Linked DNA regions of Homo sapiens: regions 2, 3, 4 and 5 are each linked to region 1. The links are contacts of gene promoters, found by promoter capture Hi-C in blood cells and fetal thymus (Javierre and others, 2016). All regions are on one chromosome and are shown on one strand. Each heading gives the region's core, a stretch centred on a gene start or on the middle of the fragment in contact. The rest is flanking DNA. Distances are from core to core; before and after follow the strand shown.

Region 1 (2,790 bases), core at 88-2,587:
CAATTTCAACTGTTAATATCTGTCAGGGTCCTTAAGTGCAAGGAACAGAAATCATCTATAAATGATATAAAAGCTGAAAATGAATTTATTAAAGGACATTAAGCAGCTCACAGACTCTCCCAGAAGCTGAAGAAACAAGCTAGAGGTTCTCCTCCCAATAAAGCCTCTGAGTACCTAACACTGCAGCTTGCAACAACACACTGATGCTGGACACTGGTTGCTGGTGATAGAACATTGCAGTCTCGGAAACGATGTAGTTACTGCGGCTGTCACCCTTACTTCAACAGACTCTCTGAAGTCCTGCTTCTGGTTGTCATTCAAGTTTGAGTTGAGTCCACCAAATTAGATTGGAGAGTCTAGCAAGCAATAATACTCATGTCCCAGTAATAAGGAAGACTAGGAAAGCCAGTATCTGTCACTTTCAGTTCCTGTAAGGGTGTTGGGGGGCAGGGTAAGGGAGAAACTCTGCCAAAAGGATGACAAATGGCCACTGCAAATAGGGTGAGCTCAAATGAGATAATTACATGAAAATGTTTCACAAACTAAGGGAGAATTCAGCCACATAACATTATCTCATTTTGTGTTGTATTGATTTTTAACTCCTCGAAGGCAGGCAAGTTGGAAATAATGTGTAAAATAATGTTAAAATCCCAATACATATGCAATCACATTTAAGCTGTTATCAATGAAGATTGGAAGGAAACATACAGTAAAAGTTATTTTATTAGAGAAGTGGGATTTAAGGTGAAGTAGTTCTTAAATTAAAAAAAAAAAAAAAAAGGACACTTTCCATTGAATTCACAGTCTTCCCCACAAACTTGGATCCAAATTCTAATGAAAGGAAGCTTAAAGACGCAAAGCTTCTGGTGAAAGCAGGAACGGAACAGTTGGTGCCAGAATCGCATCCATACTTCATGATGCGTTGTGTACGCTATGCCGTCCTAATAGGAAGGAAAACTACCACAAATTAGGAGTTTAGAAAATTGCACAATGCTGCCTACCACTTAACTTCAAATGTAACCTGTTAACAACGTTAGCCGACGTGAGGTTACCTAGGGACATAGCAAAACTCGCTAGAGTTACTTCAAGTAAGGCACACGGAGGTTGCTCTGATTATCAAGAAAACCAAACGTTCACATAAAATGTTTGTCTTCCAGCCGCCCCGCTGTTTTCCACTTTTTCCAAAAAGCACTGAAGCGTGGTGAAGAAACAAACATATCCTCAATTCTCGCGAGAGCTCCGTGTGTAACCAAGGGCTGAGGCGGAGGATTGGTCACTCAGGATGAGGAGCCTCCGCTATCCCGCCCCCGTTGCCGGGATACGCCGCGGCGCACGGCAGTTAGTGGGTAGGCCTGAGAGCCGAGGAAAACTGAGCGTGGGCCTCAGAAAGAAGTTAAGGCACCCGCGAGCCGGGCAACTGCCCTCCTTCCGCGCCGGCGGAGGTGAGAATCCCCGGGTCCCATCTCTTCCTCCCTCCCTCCCACGTCTGTTCTCTTGCCTTGGAGATGCTGATCCGCTCCAAACAAAACAAATTCAAACTCGGTCTTAGCTAACTGTTACCGTCGGGCCTGTAGCCAGGCCAGGCATGTACCAATTCTAGTCGAGCGAAGGTTGCGAACAGACCTCCTCCAACAGCCCGACCCCTCCCCGACCCCCCGCAGGAGACCCGCCAAGCACAGAGCAGAGGGAAGGACCGCGATGGGCTGAAGGATTTTAGTCAAAGCAATACATTTCTGCCTCTTACAGTGGAAGGGACTTATTTCTGTCTGTTGATCACAGTGCGGGCAGTTAGCAACTTTCCACTTATTCACCTGTGTGAGAATGGTTGGCTTAGGGAGGATAACGATAGTAATAATAATTAGAAGCAGATGTTTTAAATGTAATACTTATCGTCTTCACAACAGCCCTGCAAGGTAGATGTCACCCTTCTGTTTTACAGAAGATGAAATCCTGAGGGGTTAATTAAGGTGGCAAGATTATGCAGCCGCTAACTTTGTCAGCACTAGTTTGTATCGCTAATCATTCTGGATCCAAAGGCCAGGCTGCCTCTCTGTGTGAATAATTGGAAATTGTGTGACTCTTTGATTGAATAACCCCGAAGTTAGTGGTATATTTGTTGCTAATGCCCGCCTCTTAATCCCACTGGTAATAATATAATGGTAAGCTTTTTTTCACCACAGTAAAACGGTGGCAAAGAAAATTGGGTGAAATTTTTTATGTTGTACATTTTCTCAAAGTTAGCAGGAAACCTAGAGTAATATCTTTTCCACTGGAAAGAGATGTTTATTGTACTCGTTTTCTTCTGGAAAAACCATTTTGATCATACACCGTCTTCCTTTTCAAAGAGTCATTTCATGAAATTCCTTTTTCCATTTGAAATTCTTTTGCTTTGTACATAGAGTTCAAAATGGCAAGGAATTAGAATCAGGGAGCTAGTGGGGTCAGGAAGATTGATGTGAACATATTCAAATGAGATATCTGAATGGAAATTTCAGATAAACAATTGAAAACTCAAAATTGGTGCCCAGTTGAAAGGGCAGAACTGTAGACATTGATTAGTGAGCCGTACACATAGTTGGAGTTATAAAGATGCATGACTGTAGAAAGGATAGAAGCAGTCCAAGGACTGATTACGAGTAATGCTAAGAAAAGTCAGAAAAGTAGTACTGGACATAGAGTGTAGAAACAGAGAAATCATTTTAGTCCAACACACGCTTTGTTTGCCTTTTTTTTTTTTGAGACGGAGTCTTGCTCAGTCGCCCAGGCTGGAGTGCAGTGGCGCGATCTCGG
Region 2 (2,930 bases), core at 30-2,529, 520 kb after region 1:
ATCAATCGGACAACTCCCCAGACCCCTAATGCTGACTGCACTTGTCAGTGGCTAAATCCCTGCCCCTGCCCTTTCTTTTGCCTTCCGCCTGCCATAATCCTCCAGCCTCCAGGCGACTTCTCCCTACAGTGCTGTTAGGAAGTGACTCTTGTCTCTCCTTTGCTCCAAAGCTCTGAATCTGTAGCCCTTCCTTTGTATCTAAACAGTCCGATTTGTTGGTTATTCTCACAGCTCACCCCCAACTTCTGGCCCATCTATAATCAGGGCCCACCCACCCATCTGTTAGCCCTGTGGGCCCATCAAAGCAGGCTTCAAACACAAGCTGCCACCTCTGGTGGAGGTTCAGCCTACCCCTTCCCCTTCTCTCCTGACCCTTCCCTAATCTGGCTTTGTTTCTGCCATCCCTGCCGCACTCATTTGGAACCCTTGCTTTTCTCAGCAAATATTTATGGGTTTGACTTGTTCTTATTGAGTTCTATACTCTTCCCCCAGCACTGCCTCCCCCTGGCCTTTTATCTTTTGTTTGTTTGTTTTTTTCTCTTTCACTTTTCCCCTTTTGAGCTCTGGCGGCTCTGGTAGAAGGTGGTGGCTGCTGAAGGAAAAAATACAACCCCTTCTCACCCTGAACCATCTGTCCACGGACTAACTAGTAAGTTCCCTCTGGGTTTCCTGGGGACACTCGGAAATGGCAGAAAGACCAAGATCACTTGCACCTGGGGTGCAAGTTTAAAATGCAGACTCTAGCATCCCACCCCTCACCAGTGGATGTGTGGACTCTGCTGCTCTCCAGGATTTAAGAGCTCCCTGAGCCAGGGAGTCTGACATGCCTGGCCTGGCATATCCAGTGGTCCATGGGCCAAAAGTCATTTCCTGAGGCGAATAGGCAGGAGACAAAAGTGGTCATCTGAAGAGTTGTATTTCCAGCAGTAAGAATGGCAGAAAAAGTCCTTGGGGGAAAGGAGAATTAACCTGAATCATTATTGGGAATATACAACATGGCCCTGCCCCTACTGGTCTACACCACCTGTGGAGAGGCTAGTTCAATGAACCACCCCTGCGCTTTGTGGCTCTTGGTCACTGTGTTGTATAGACTGGTCGTTAAGTAAATGGATCTGAGATCAGACTGCCCGATTTTGACTCCCAAATCTACCATTTCTAGAGTGTGGGCTCTGGAGCTTACTATATCACATTGCTCAACGTTAGCTTCCTCTTCTTCCATTTCTGTAAAATGGAGATAAAATATCCATCTCAAAGGGCTGCCATGAGAGTTAAATTACATTATCCAAATAAAGCATTTGATATAGCAGCAAGCGCAAGGTAAGTTTGTAATATGCATTAGCTTTAATTCTTATCACTAACATCATGCTTTCTTGAACTTACTCATATACATATGTCTCCCTCCTTCTGGATAGGGAACTCCTGAAAAGCAGATCCCACAGGCTGCTACGTTCCCTCTCTCCTAAAACACTCTTAGTGGGTTATACCTTGCAGGATTGTGGTGATCAACTAAGACAGTAGGTGAAGAGAGGTTAGCAGCGGGTCTGGCACACTGTAGGCCAGAAAGAATCATCCCGAGTCCAAGGGTGCTTTTTAAATACCAAATATCTTAATCCTGATGTTTTTATGTAACCACAATGTGTAGACTTGTCAAAAATGTTAAAAATAGAAGAAACCAAAAATCAAAGAGAAAAATCTTCTCATAGTTTCTAATCCAACTTGCATGGAAATAGTTATCTTGCAAAAGAGTGAAGGGTGTAAATTTTTTCATTCATTTAGGGGAGTTGTTTTGGTTTTTCTTGTTTTATTCTTTGGGTAGTTTATTTGTTTTTCCCACACTATTTTTTTTTTAATGACAAGTAAGGGTGACACCACTTTTCTTAAAAACAATAAAAGCTACAGAAAAAAAAAAGGCTTTAAAAGTCTCCAAAGGCCTCAGGAACTTTTGCCCAGAGAAGTGTACTCCTCAAGCAAAGCCATGGAAAACAACATCTGCCACAGGCGCAGGGCTGAGCCAAACCCCTGCGGCGAGGGCTCGCTTTATTTTTGGTCCAAGCTGACAGTACAGGAAGCCACATCCACTGACTTCTTTTTCATTTAAGATTCTACATTCATCAATACGTCTTGTTAGGTAAGCCTCCAGTGGATTTCCTCTATTTGGTCTAAGAAATCTGAAGAGGAAAAACAGAAACACACAGTCACCATTCCTAGGAAAATAGTATCAGCCCAGCAAGAGACCAAAACAGGTATCTGGTAAAAGCTCCCACTCTATTCTCTTTAAACTGCACTTTATTCTAAAAAAAAAAAAAAAAAAAAAAAAAAAGAGCTCCCTGAGTTTAAACAGTGTTTGATTTTATATAAGCACCAGATGATTCTAATTCCTTTTGGAAAAAGGTGGTGGAGGATTCCATAAAAACTCTGATAATCATTTCTTCTACCAACTTTAGTCAACAAAAAAATTGAAAGGCTTAACGTAGGTGAAAACTGAAAAATACAGAGTTCCGCAAACACAAGTTAAGACTGTCATTTTTAAAAAGAAGCATCTAAAAGTCACTTTGGTGCATCTCAAATGCACGTCTTTACATAACTGATCAAGATACAAACCATTTGCAAACATTTATGTTTTAAATCACAGATAGCTATTCCAACTCAGAGATTTTAAGTGATTACACAATGAACTGGTCCTCATTTGCTCTCCCTTAATTTTCCCTAACCTTGCATGGCTTCTAGAAAAAGACAAAAACTGACAGACAAGGGTAGTATGGCCAAGGAGCCCTGATTTATTTCAGCTTTGAAAGGCCACTACACTTGGATTCTCATTTCTGCAAGGAATGCAATCCAGAGAGCTGAGCTCGCTGTCCTGAATAAAGTACACGTTTTTCTCATCTAGCGGAGTAATCTTGTGAAATGTGAGTACAATCTGCCCAGTGTCT
Region 3 (2,823 bases), core at 122-2,621, 570 kb after region 1:
CTTCCTCTCGCACCTCTATCTACCCCATTTCAGAATCATCTACCTTCAAGCAAGAATTAACAGAGATTGTGGCTACGCAAATGCACCAAAAAAGGGTGAAATATATCTGAAATGTACCTGGTTCTGCCCTTGGAAGCCATTTCCTGCTCATGCCACTAACAGCATGCTGCCAAACTGTTCAGATTCAAGATTATTCCAAGCGCAGGGCCCAAATGTTATAGCCAAAGAAAGTCTTATGATAAAAGTGAGGCAAATTTCAGCCAAGAAGTTAGAAGAGATGTTTAAAAGAACAAGAACAAATTGTGGATCATGGTATATGCAGGCTATCAGCAGAAGGATCAGACAATAAAATGAGTTAGTGCAAACCATTTAGTAAAAATAACTATCAGCAGAGTTGTTCCAGATTAAAAATAGTACTACAAGCTTGTAAAGGAGTTAGGACATGCAAGCTACTGAGCATAAAATATATACTTGCTATTTTTCATGACTTTCTCTAATAAAGTCTTTGCCTGTTCTCTCTAATAACTTTACTGGAATGAGGTCAATTACTTTAGTCATTTATGGTTGCAGTCCTGCCAAGTGTTTGCTATCCTGGAGGAAAGAGAATGGCTGAGAAAGCCGAGCTGAGCTTTCAGTTAATATACATTTTCTGAATGTGTGGCAGGGGTAGAAGTCAGAACAGTATGCTTTTTTAAAGATCACATCTAATCAAAAGAAAAAGGATAACATCTCCACTGGAAAAAAGGCAAGGGCACAAACTGACATCATCACAAAGGAAGAAATACTACAGACAATGTGAAAAATGTTTAATCTAACTTGATTTTTAAATGCAAAATAAGATGACAAGATACTCCCATCAGTATGACAGAAAAGAAAAAGAATGACAATATAAAATGTGAGTGGAGTGTAAGGTATAGGAGCCTTTGTGCATTACTGGGAGGAAAGTAAACTGGGACATGTTTTCTACAGGGAAATATGGCAATCTTCAATATCCTAAAGAACGCATCAGCCCCTGTGACCTAGGTATCACGTCTTCCGAAATTTATTCCAAGGAAATAGGTTTATGATATCTCCCCCTTTTACATTCATTTTCACCATTCGATATTTTCTATTTTTTCCTATAGTGATTTTTTTGGGAAGATTTTTAATTCTAAAAGAAACTGTACAAGCTTAACTTCCACTATAATTACCCTGTTTTCCTTAGCGGGGTAGGCCAAGACAAGAAATGCTCTTTTATTTTGTTAATGATGCCTTTGGGTACTTCTTGAGTAACTTTGGTCTTTTTTGTTGCTTCTGGGTTGCTGCTGCTAAATTTCAAAGGAATCCTTCCTTGGGGATCATTTTCATAATGAAATGTTTGTAAAGTGCCTTGCAGTACTTCAAAGATGTTGCTTTTTTTTCTTTTCCTGGTTCCACCGTTGGGAAGGTAAAGAGATATAATACCCAGAAATCACTAGAGAAAGTGCTCTATGTGTCGCATTCCTGGCTTAGCAGTCTCACTTCTTTTATGTTAAATGGAAACTCAAAAGTTCTGTTGAGTTCGCAAAGGGAAAACTCTCAGAGCTGTGCAGAGCCAAGCTTCTGGTATCCACTGACAATGTCTGAGTGGGTACATAGATCATAATGTTCCTACAGAAGCCTCTTTCTTCCCCTGGGTTGAGGAGGAATCAAAAGTGTAATTGAGCTTCCTTGGAAGAGGGACTCATTGGGGATCCCACAGGAAAAGCTGGCAACAGCAAGTCAACTGCAAGGCTATGGGGTAGCATAGGTTCTAACAGGTGCACAGTCTCAGTCAGCCTCCCCTCAGAGGCAAGACAACTCGCTGGGCACCATCTGGGGACCCTGACTTCTCAGAGTAGCTACTTTGCTTTTGCCCCAGTTCTTTAATCAATAATCCACACTAAGAATGAACACAATGTGTAAGCATCTGACTTGTGCAGGGAAACAGGGCCGCCTGCAACCCAACAAGCGCACCCACAGGGGAACTCGGGACCATCCTAAGCCACTTGTTCTCTGGGACGTGGAAGCAGGAACTGTGCTCTAGCCGTATCTGTGTTGCGTCGTCTGAGTCCTCTTTTTCTACAATGAAGAAAGGGGACTTGGGATTTAAACTTGGAGCGGTACTCAAAGCCAGAACTCCACGTTCATTCCGGAGTGAACCACCACACTACTATTTCCAGGCAACGTCATAAGGCTTCCTCGTTATTTGCATCTTCGTTCTCTTTTTGGCGACTAGCCTGCCCTCCCGCCCTTGGAAACTTGTGGACCCCAGAATCTCAGCTTTCCGCCTACCAAAGGTGCCCCGATCCCCTCCCACTGCCCTAGCAGCGGCCCAGCCCCAACGCCTTTGGCTAGAGATTGAAATCCTCTGGAACCAACCACTGGACGCTCTGGATTGGGGCGGAACGCGCTTCCACTGTCTCGAAAGCAGCACCTTCTCGGATTTGAGCCTTTGCGGCGCGCCTGGGCTGAGATCTGAGAAATGCGCCCTGGGCCACAGGCAGCAGCGGAGGCGGGGAAGGAACAACTTTCCCTCCGCCCTCTAACCACAAGGGCGGGGTGGGGCGGCCTCGCTGGGGTCGGGCTCCTCCACTTTCCCAGCTGGGATCCCCTGCCGGAGCTGGCGTGGGGGCCGGGGAGGGGGACCAGAGGGGCTTCCTTCTCTCCCCAAGCCCCGCCAGATGTTGGAAAGGCAAACAATAGGGGAAACGCGGAGAAACAAAAGGCCATTCGCCACGATCTCAGTCGGCTGCGTAGAGAGATCTCTGTGGGGAGGGTTAGGGGAGAGGGTCAGGAAAGAGCGCGAGGGGGGGGATCCCGAGA
Region 4 (3,215 bases), core at 236-2,735, 600 kb after region 1:
CATCATTTTTTTTTTCAAGTTGGGTCCATGCTCAACAATTAATTATCATTACTTTTCCTTTTGAATTTACTGTTCAGGCTTTTTTTTTTAAAAAAAAATAAGAAGTGAATAACAATATAAAATGCAAAGTAAAAAAATGTTCCATTAATATATTTTAACAGTTTTGCTGTATTTTATATTCATATGTCAAGAAAAAAAAGACTTAGAATTACTTCTTTGGTTTTGTTAATAAGTCCATTCAATAACTGTTACATAATAGACTATACACAATGTAGGGGCTGGGGCTGGGGCTGTCTGGTTGGCCACTATTAAGCCCGGTACCTAGAACAGTGCCTAGGAGCTCAATATATATTTATTAAACAAATAGTTAAATATTTACTTTAAGGGTTAATCTTACCTATTTTAGGGTAAACACAATTGTATGGAAAAAGAAGAACATTTAAGAAAAAAATGCTTGATTAAATGTTTCTTCAAGCATAATTCTGCTGGTAATATTTCTTTCTTTTTAAATGCAACTTCTGTTTTGTTTTTATTCGTAAAAGACACAATTTCATATTGCTTGACTACAGTACCAGCAGGCAGAGCATTACGTACAAATCAGGAGTAAAGCTTTCGTCAGTGTAGATGATCGTATCCTGAGCCATGTCTTCTTCTGAAGTGGCTCTCCAGAAGGCTGTCAGCTCGGATCTCATGTATCTACGCTGATTATAAATATGTTCATGACAGGGTGGCATCTGCTTCACAGTATTGACATCCACATCTATGTGTGTGGTGGGATATGGAGCATACATGACTTGCCGGAAAGGCAGCACAAAGCTTCCAGTTGAATCCTGTCAAAATAAAAGGAAAATTTACTGTCTTACATGCCAAACGATATGAATAATTGTTTTTTAATTTTAAAAAATGGTCTCTGATTTAGCAAATCCATCTCTAAAAATTTATCCTAAGAAGCTATTCATGAGTGTGTGCAAAGTTTTAGTGACAGAAGTGTTCAGTATAGCATTGGTTTCAATAGCAAAACATCAGAATGACCTAAGCATCCAAAGGAAGTGGTTAAGTAAATAAAAATGAATTTATTATTTGGCATCTATAGATGAAGTTGTTGAAGTTTGTGTTGATATTCAAAGAGGCTTAGAATCTGCTGTGAAAAAAGCAGATTAGAACATGCAGAGATGATCCAGTGGGGGTGGGAGTCTTAAAGAAAATACATGCAAAAGGGAAAAAAAGACTAGAAAGAGATATACCAAATATTAACAGTGGGTATTCACTGGATTCAAAATTACAAGTGTCTTTTAATTTCTTAATTATTCTATGCACCTCAATGAGTATGTATTTTTATAAAACAAATTTACTTCTTTCCTAATCAGTTGGGGTAGCCAGTTACCATGTAATAATAACCTACTGCGTATGAGGCACTGTGCTATGAACAGAACAGAAGAAAGAGGCTATTTCCATTTTTTTACTATTATAATGCTGTGATAATCATCTTTGTATAATGTCAAAGGTATTTTCTGGAAAACTATATGATTTGTATTTGCATGGAGAACTATTAAATATTTTTTCATTAGATCATAGTTTTGAAATTTCCTCTAGGCATCTGGTATAGGTCCCTTTCAGAACTAAAATTATATAATTAAATGAGAGGGTGCTGAGGAAACAAAAGTATTAAGCACTTTATTATGCCTTTAACAGGAGAAGTTCTAATTTACAGATATGTATAACTCAAATAGAAACTACGTTTCCTTTAACTAGTTTCTATATTTAAATACTATCATTCTGAGTTCATAGCAGCACATTATTGAAAATGCACAAAAGCCTAATATAACTTGTATTTGCAACAATTTTTAAATTTTTTTATTTCATTTTGCCGTGGCTACATCCTCAAGAAAGTAGTCACTATGAGACAATCACATAACCATTAGGAAAGCTATTTCTTCACGTCTTGGGACTATAATTGAAATAACAATAATAGATTCAACAAGGTGAACAACTTTCTTCCCTTTAAGTATTATAAATAATTGCTAATTTACATTTCTCTGTTTTGCTCCTTGACAGTAGACTCAAATAAAAGAAAAATACAATTTTTTTCTAATATATATTATATATAGAAATATATATATTTTAGTACACATACATAGGAATTGCTTAAATCCTATAAGCTTCTTAAAGATGTTTAAAATTTTTTTTCAATAAAATTCAAATCTATTTAGTTAAAAAGAAATGATCTTATTTTTGATGTGCAACCTGATTTAAGCATGTGTTAAAAAAAAAAAAGTCCTGAGGCTAGACATGTAGGAACAGGGACCCACCTGGAACACAAAGGGTATTCTATGGTGTTTCACTGATGATACTAACTATAAATCCATAAGACATATAGTCTATGTGCAGAACTGTGTAAAGGAAGTCAGTCTCTGGGCATGTCAATATGAGATACATTAAATGCTAATATTTAAGATTTGTCTATAAAGAGTCTCAAAAATGATTTTAGAAAAGTGGTTTCACTTGTGATAACTAGAAACTATACCTTTAGCAGGCCTTGTACAAAGAGCCCTGACTCATATTTAAATGATGATTCTGCTTCACATAACCTGGAGCATTTTCTCTCTGCTGGAGTCAGAAAAAGGCATAATGTTCTGACTATCTATAAAAGAAAATATTTTAGCATTAAAACATGAAGTAAAAAGACCACTGATTTGCTTATGAAAGATATCTGAAATTTTAATTGTTATTATCAATAAAACATATCCTAAGAAATAAGTATTCTTTAGTCACCTGGAATCCATGGGATGTAACAGTTGTTGCTTAAAATAGGGATTCTGTGGTCAAATAAATTTAGAAAATGCTTGGTAAATTTACTGTATGGCATCTCAAAACCTTTAACATTTGGCTACATACTGTGACTCTTCAGGTGAATTATATCATCTGCAGACTTTCTCAGACTTATTTGACCATGCAACTTTTATAGCTTCTGTTTAGTGGGTCTACACATGAAATTCGTTGTAAGAAATATCAAAGAATGTCCAGATCCTCCAAAAAGAAGAGAATTAATTATTGAATTTGATTTAAAATAAGCAGGTCATTGGGTGGGATTTAGAAATCTGATTCTAATAATATTTGACCTACAGCTCTATTAGGAAAAATAAAAAGGCATGTAACTATCTTGAAATTCAAACCATATCCACAGTTATTATGTTAAAGGAGTGGTTTTCAACCTA
Region 5 (2,805 bases), core at 90-2,589, 540 kb after region 1:
GTCACATGTAAGGACAGTATAATGTCAACTTCTAAACTTCTCCAGGTACATGTAAAAGTTTAGTTCTACAGCCTAAATATTAAAAAATATGGATGTGGTTAACCGTGGTTCATCTCAATAGAATAATAGGACTCCAATAAATATGAGGCATTCCATTTAAAATAGGGAAACTGTAATTAGGTGTGTTTTAAAATTTAGCTCTGGTTTAATCAAGTCAGCCTAAGCAGTCCAACATATTAGTCTTTGTCAGTAAAGGAATCCATCCACTCTAAACTCTCCCTGGGCTTCTGAAGAACTTTAAAATTGTTCATTAATTAATGCTTTCAGCACTCCTACAGCCTCATTATGCTGTTGTTATTAAGCATTTTATTTTCTTGGTCCCAAGGGTTCCCAAAGCAAATACATGTTCCCCAGCAGACATTTATGTTTTCCTCCAGAAGAGTTGGTTTTCCATTCTTGATCTAAAACAAATGTTAATTAAAACGATGGTTAATATGGCCCACACTTTTCCCAAACATTTTCAAAGTTGGCAGCATTCCATTCTCCTCTTCCTATATTCCAAGAAACTCCAGCAAGTGATTAGTCTTCTTCATAGAGTAAAAATATCTAGACAAAAGCAGTCAAAGAATATTCTGAGTAGCTTCCCAGAAAGATATTCTTAGAAAAGCTCCCTGTTTGGGGCTCTTATACATCAGAGAGCTTCAATTCCTACAAACTTTGTGGAGGTTACTTTAAAGGCCAACTACCTTTTGACTCACAAATCACTTCTGGGAAATTTTCCTAAGGAAAAAGCATAGATTTCCACAAAGCTTGGATGTGAAAGCTTGTGAATGTCTTTATCACAACATTGTTTAATATTTAAATTCAGAAAAACCTAACTTCCCAAAAATCATGGAGTATCCATACTATAGAATTCTATATAGACATATGAAAAGCTTTAATAAAATATTTAAGGATATTAAAATATTTATGATTTAGTATTATACAAATATAAGAAGACAATGAGAATAATTTCTAGAATTATCACAATTTCCTAAAAAATATATATACATATTTGACTGTAAAGAAATAAACTCAGAACTTACTAATAATTATGTCTAGTTTCAGGTGATTTTAATTTCTTTTCTGTACTTTCCTAAATTTTTGTAGTTTTATATGTTCTAAATTAAATATATATTACTTTGTAATTAAAATATAAAATGTTTTACTTATTCCTTTCTCTTAGCAATGTGAATATAGTCTTCCTACATGGGGAATTAATCACTAGATTAGTAGGAAATTAATGAAATTAACAATGGATGAACAAAAAGTTAACTTACCACATACATTTGGCTTTAACTTCTTGTATGTAAATAAATTCCTCCCAGTAGATTCTCTACCAACTACCTCCAGTTTCTATTAGCTGATCCTTGTTTAGAAGCAGTCCACTGATTTTTAGTAAATCAAAATGAAACTCCAAGAAAGACAAGAAGATGAAATGTGAAAAGGAAGCTGGCCTTGGTGCTATGCACAGTGATGGAAACCATGAATATGAATAGATGGAGCATTCGGATAGCAGGATAATAGAAGAGGGAAATGCATTCATTTGACAGCTGCCAACTCCCCCTCCCTGCACTGTCACTTCCCGGCTGCCCACCCCCTTCTCCAGGCCTTGATTCCCAGCCCACAGAAACGCCGTGGTGCGTGTAGCCTCTATGGTGTTCTCACACTCCAAAAGCGCAGAAAATAAAAGGCCACTATGTTGAAAGCTTGTGCCTCATAGAGTAACAACAGTGCTAAAAGTGCTTAAAAATACGTTACTACTTTTCATATCAATCACAGCGTTTTCCAAGCTACTCCCCAACCTACTGTGAGGTACAAGGGTGAGCATTGTTTAATTGGCTTTGGGAGTCGTATGAGCTGTGCGAGACCTTTAATTAGAGGAGCTGGTGGAATAAGCGTGTGATGTGTGTGTTAGGGAGGGGTGGGCTGGTTCTGCCATGGTCTTTGTAATCCCTTTGCAAATGCACCTTTGGACAAACTTAAAAGAAAGTAGAGGAAAGTTAGAAGAACTTGCTTCTTACTAAAAGAAGTTCAAGGTAGCAGTACCCTAGGTTTTGTTCATGTGCCTAATCTCTGAATTCAAATACCACTTAATAATGATGCTTAAACTGTTTATTCTCAATGTCAGAATGTTCTCATCTAGGTCAACAGAGAAAACCCTGATTTGTAGTACTGGGGTCTCATCCCAGAGACTGTTGGTGCTGAGGCACATGCACCATTGAAAGGGGAAAGTTATTCAGTACTAGCAGCAGTTGCTATGTAGAGATAAAGACCTGACATTGCTGGATCTTATGATTCTTTAAGCGTAATTGGAAATCTATTTTTTAGGTGAAATCTGTATTTTTATAGGTTGATAACTTAAAAGAAAAATCAACACTTTCTATGAGCAAACAAAACATCTCTGTGGGCCAAAATAGGCCTGTGGACCTCTGATTCAGGAAGAAGAGGATCTTAACACAAGATTTTTTAAGCACATTTTAAAGTGCACCAAATTTATCTGTATATGCATAAATTATTATCCAATAAATTCAGTAGAAAAGAACCATGAATTTAAATTCTAAACCACCTGACCAATTTATCTGAATCAGCTCCTAAAATCATTTTGGGTCTATTTTCCTCCTTTAATTAAAATAAGAATAATCTACTAAAGTTTTACAATTTAAATATTGACAATTATATTTATTTTTGCATCTCAGAGCCACTGCTGATGTATTTCTTTTATGTATGAAGAGACTGAGGAACAAGGAAAAATCACAGAAAAGC

Evidence for each region. The method cuts DNA at HindIII sites, captures the fragments that hold promoters and counts their contacts. A CHiCAGO score of 5 or more calls a contact.
Region 2: a fragment that was not itself captured here is called in contact with the fragment with the promoter of IFT74 in region 1 in 3 of 17 cell types (total B cells, naive B cells and erythroblasts); the score reaches 6.2 in total B cells.
Region 3: a contact is called between a fragment that was not itself captured here and the fragment with the promoter of IFT74 in region 1, in 12 of 17 cell types (activated CD4 T cells, total B cells, total CD4 T cells and 9 more). The highest score is 11.4, in activated CD4 T cells.
Region 4: a contact is called between a fragment that was not itself captured here and the fragment with the promoter of IFT74 in region 1, in 7 of 17 cell types (activated CD4 T cells, total B cells, non-activated CD4 T cells and 4 more). The highest score is 10.2, in activated CD4 T cells.
Region 5: a contact is called between a fragment that was not itself captured here and the fragment with the promoter of IFT74 in region 1, in 1 of 17 cell types (total B cells). The highest score is 7.3, in total B cells.

Annotation. Positions count from the first base shown.
Region 1 is chr9:26,955,075-26,957,864 of GRCh38, forward strand. It overlaps IFT74 (intraflagellar transport 74), which reads left to right and starts at 1,338. Exons shown (of 20, transcript NM_025103.4): 1 at 1,338-1,442. It overlaps IFT74-AS1 (IFT74 antisense RNA 1), which reads right to left and starts at 1,233. Exons shown (of 2, transcript NR_121605.1): 1 at 1,053-1,233; 2 at 706-941. RefSeq lists enhancers at 550-1,285, 1,286-2,020 and a silencer at 2,617-2,790. The HindIII fragment of the contact is 1,304 bases long and covers 859-2,162 here.
Region 2 is chr9:27,470,386-27,473,315 of GRCh38, forward strand. All of the region lies in intron 1 of MOB3B (MOB kinase activator 3B), which reads right to left. Among named protein-coding and RNA genes, the nearest start is that of IFNK, 52 kb to the right of the region's middle. The HindIII fragment of the contact is 4,612 bases long and covers 1-2,930 here.
Region 3 is chr9:27,525,974-27,528,796 of GRCh38, forward strand. All of the region lies in intron 1 of MOB3B (MOB kinase activator 3B), which reads right to left. It overlaps IFNK (interferon kappa), which reads left to right. Exons shown (of 2, transcript NM_020124.3): 2 at 34-525. LOC124902107 (dapper homolog 3-like) reads left to right here and starts at 2,483. Exons shown (of 2, transcript XM_047424279.1): 1 at 2,483-2,753. The coding sequence starts at 2,483. RefSeq lists a silencer at 2,569-2,618. The HindIII fragment of the contact is 409 bases long and covers 1,168-1,576 here.
Region 4 is chr9:27,555,967-27,559,181 of GRCh38, forward strand. C9orf72 (C9orf72-SMCR8 complex subunit) reads right to left here. Exons shown (of 11, transcript NM_018325.5): 7 at 2,525-2,641; 8 at 595-830. Among named protein-coding and RNA genes, the nearest start is that of C9orf72, 16 kb to the right of the region's middle. The HindIII fragment of the contact is 1,343 bases long and covers 815-2,157 here.
Region 5 is chr9:27,496,469-27,499,273 of GRCh38, forward strand. The region is part of intron 1 of MOB3B (MOB kinase activator 3B); the gene reads right to left. Among named protein-coding and RNA genes, the nearest start is that of IFNK, 26 kb to the right of the region's middle. The HindIII fragment of the contact is 813 bases long and covers 934-1,746 here.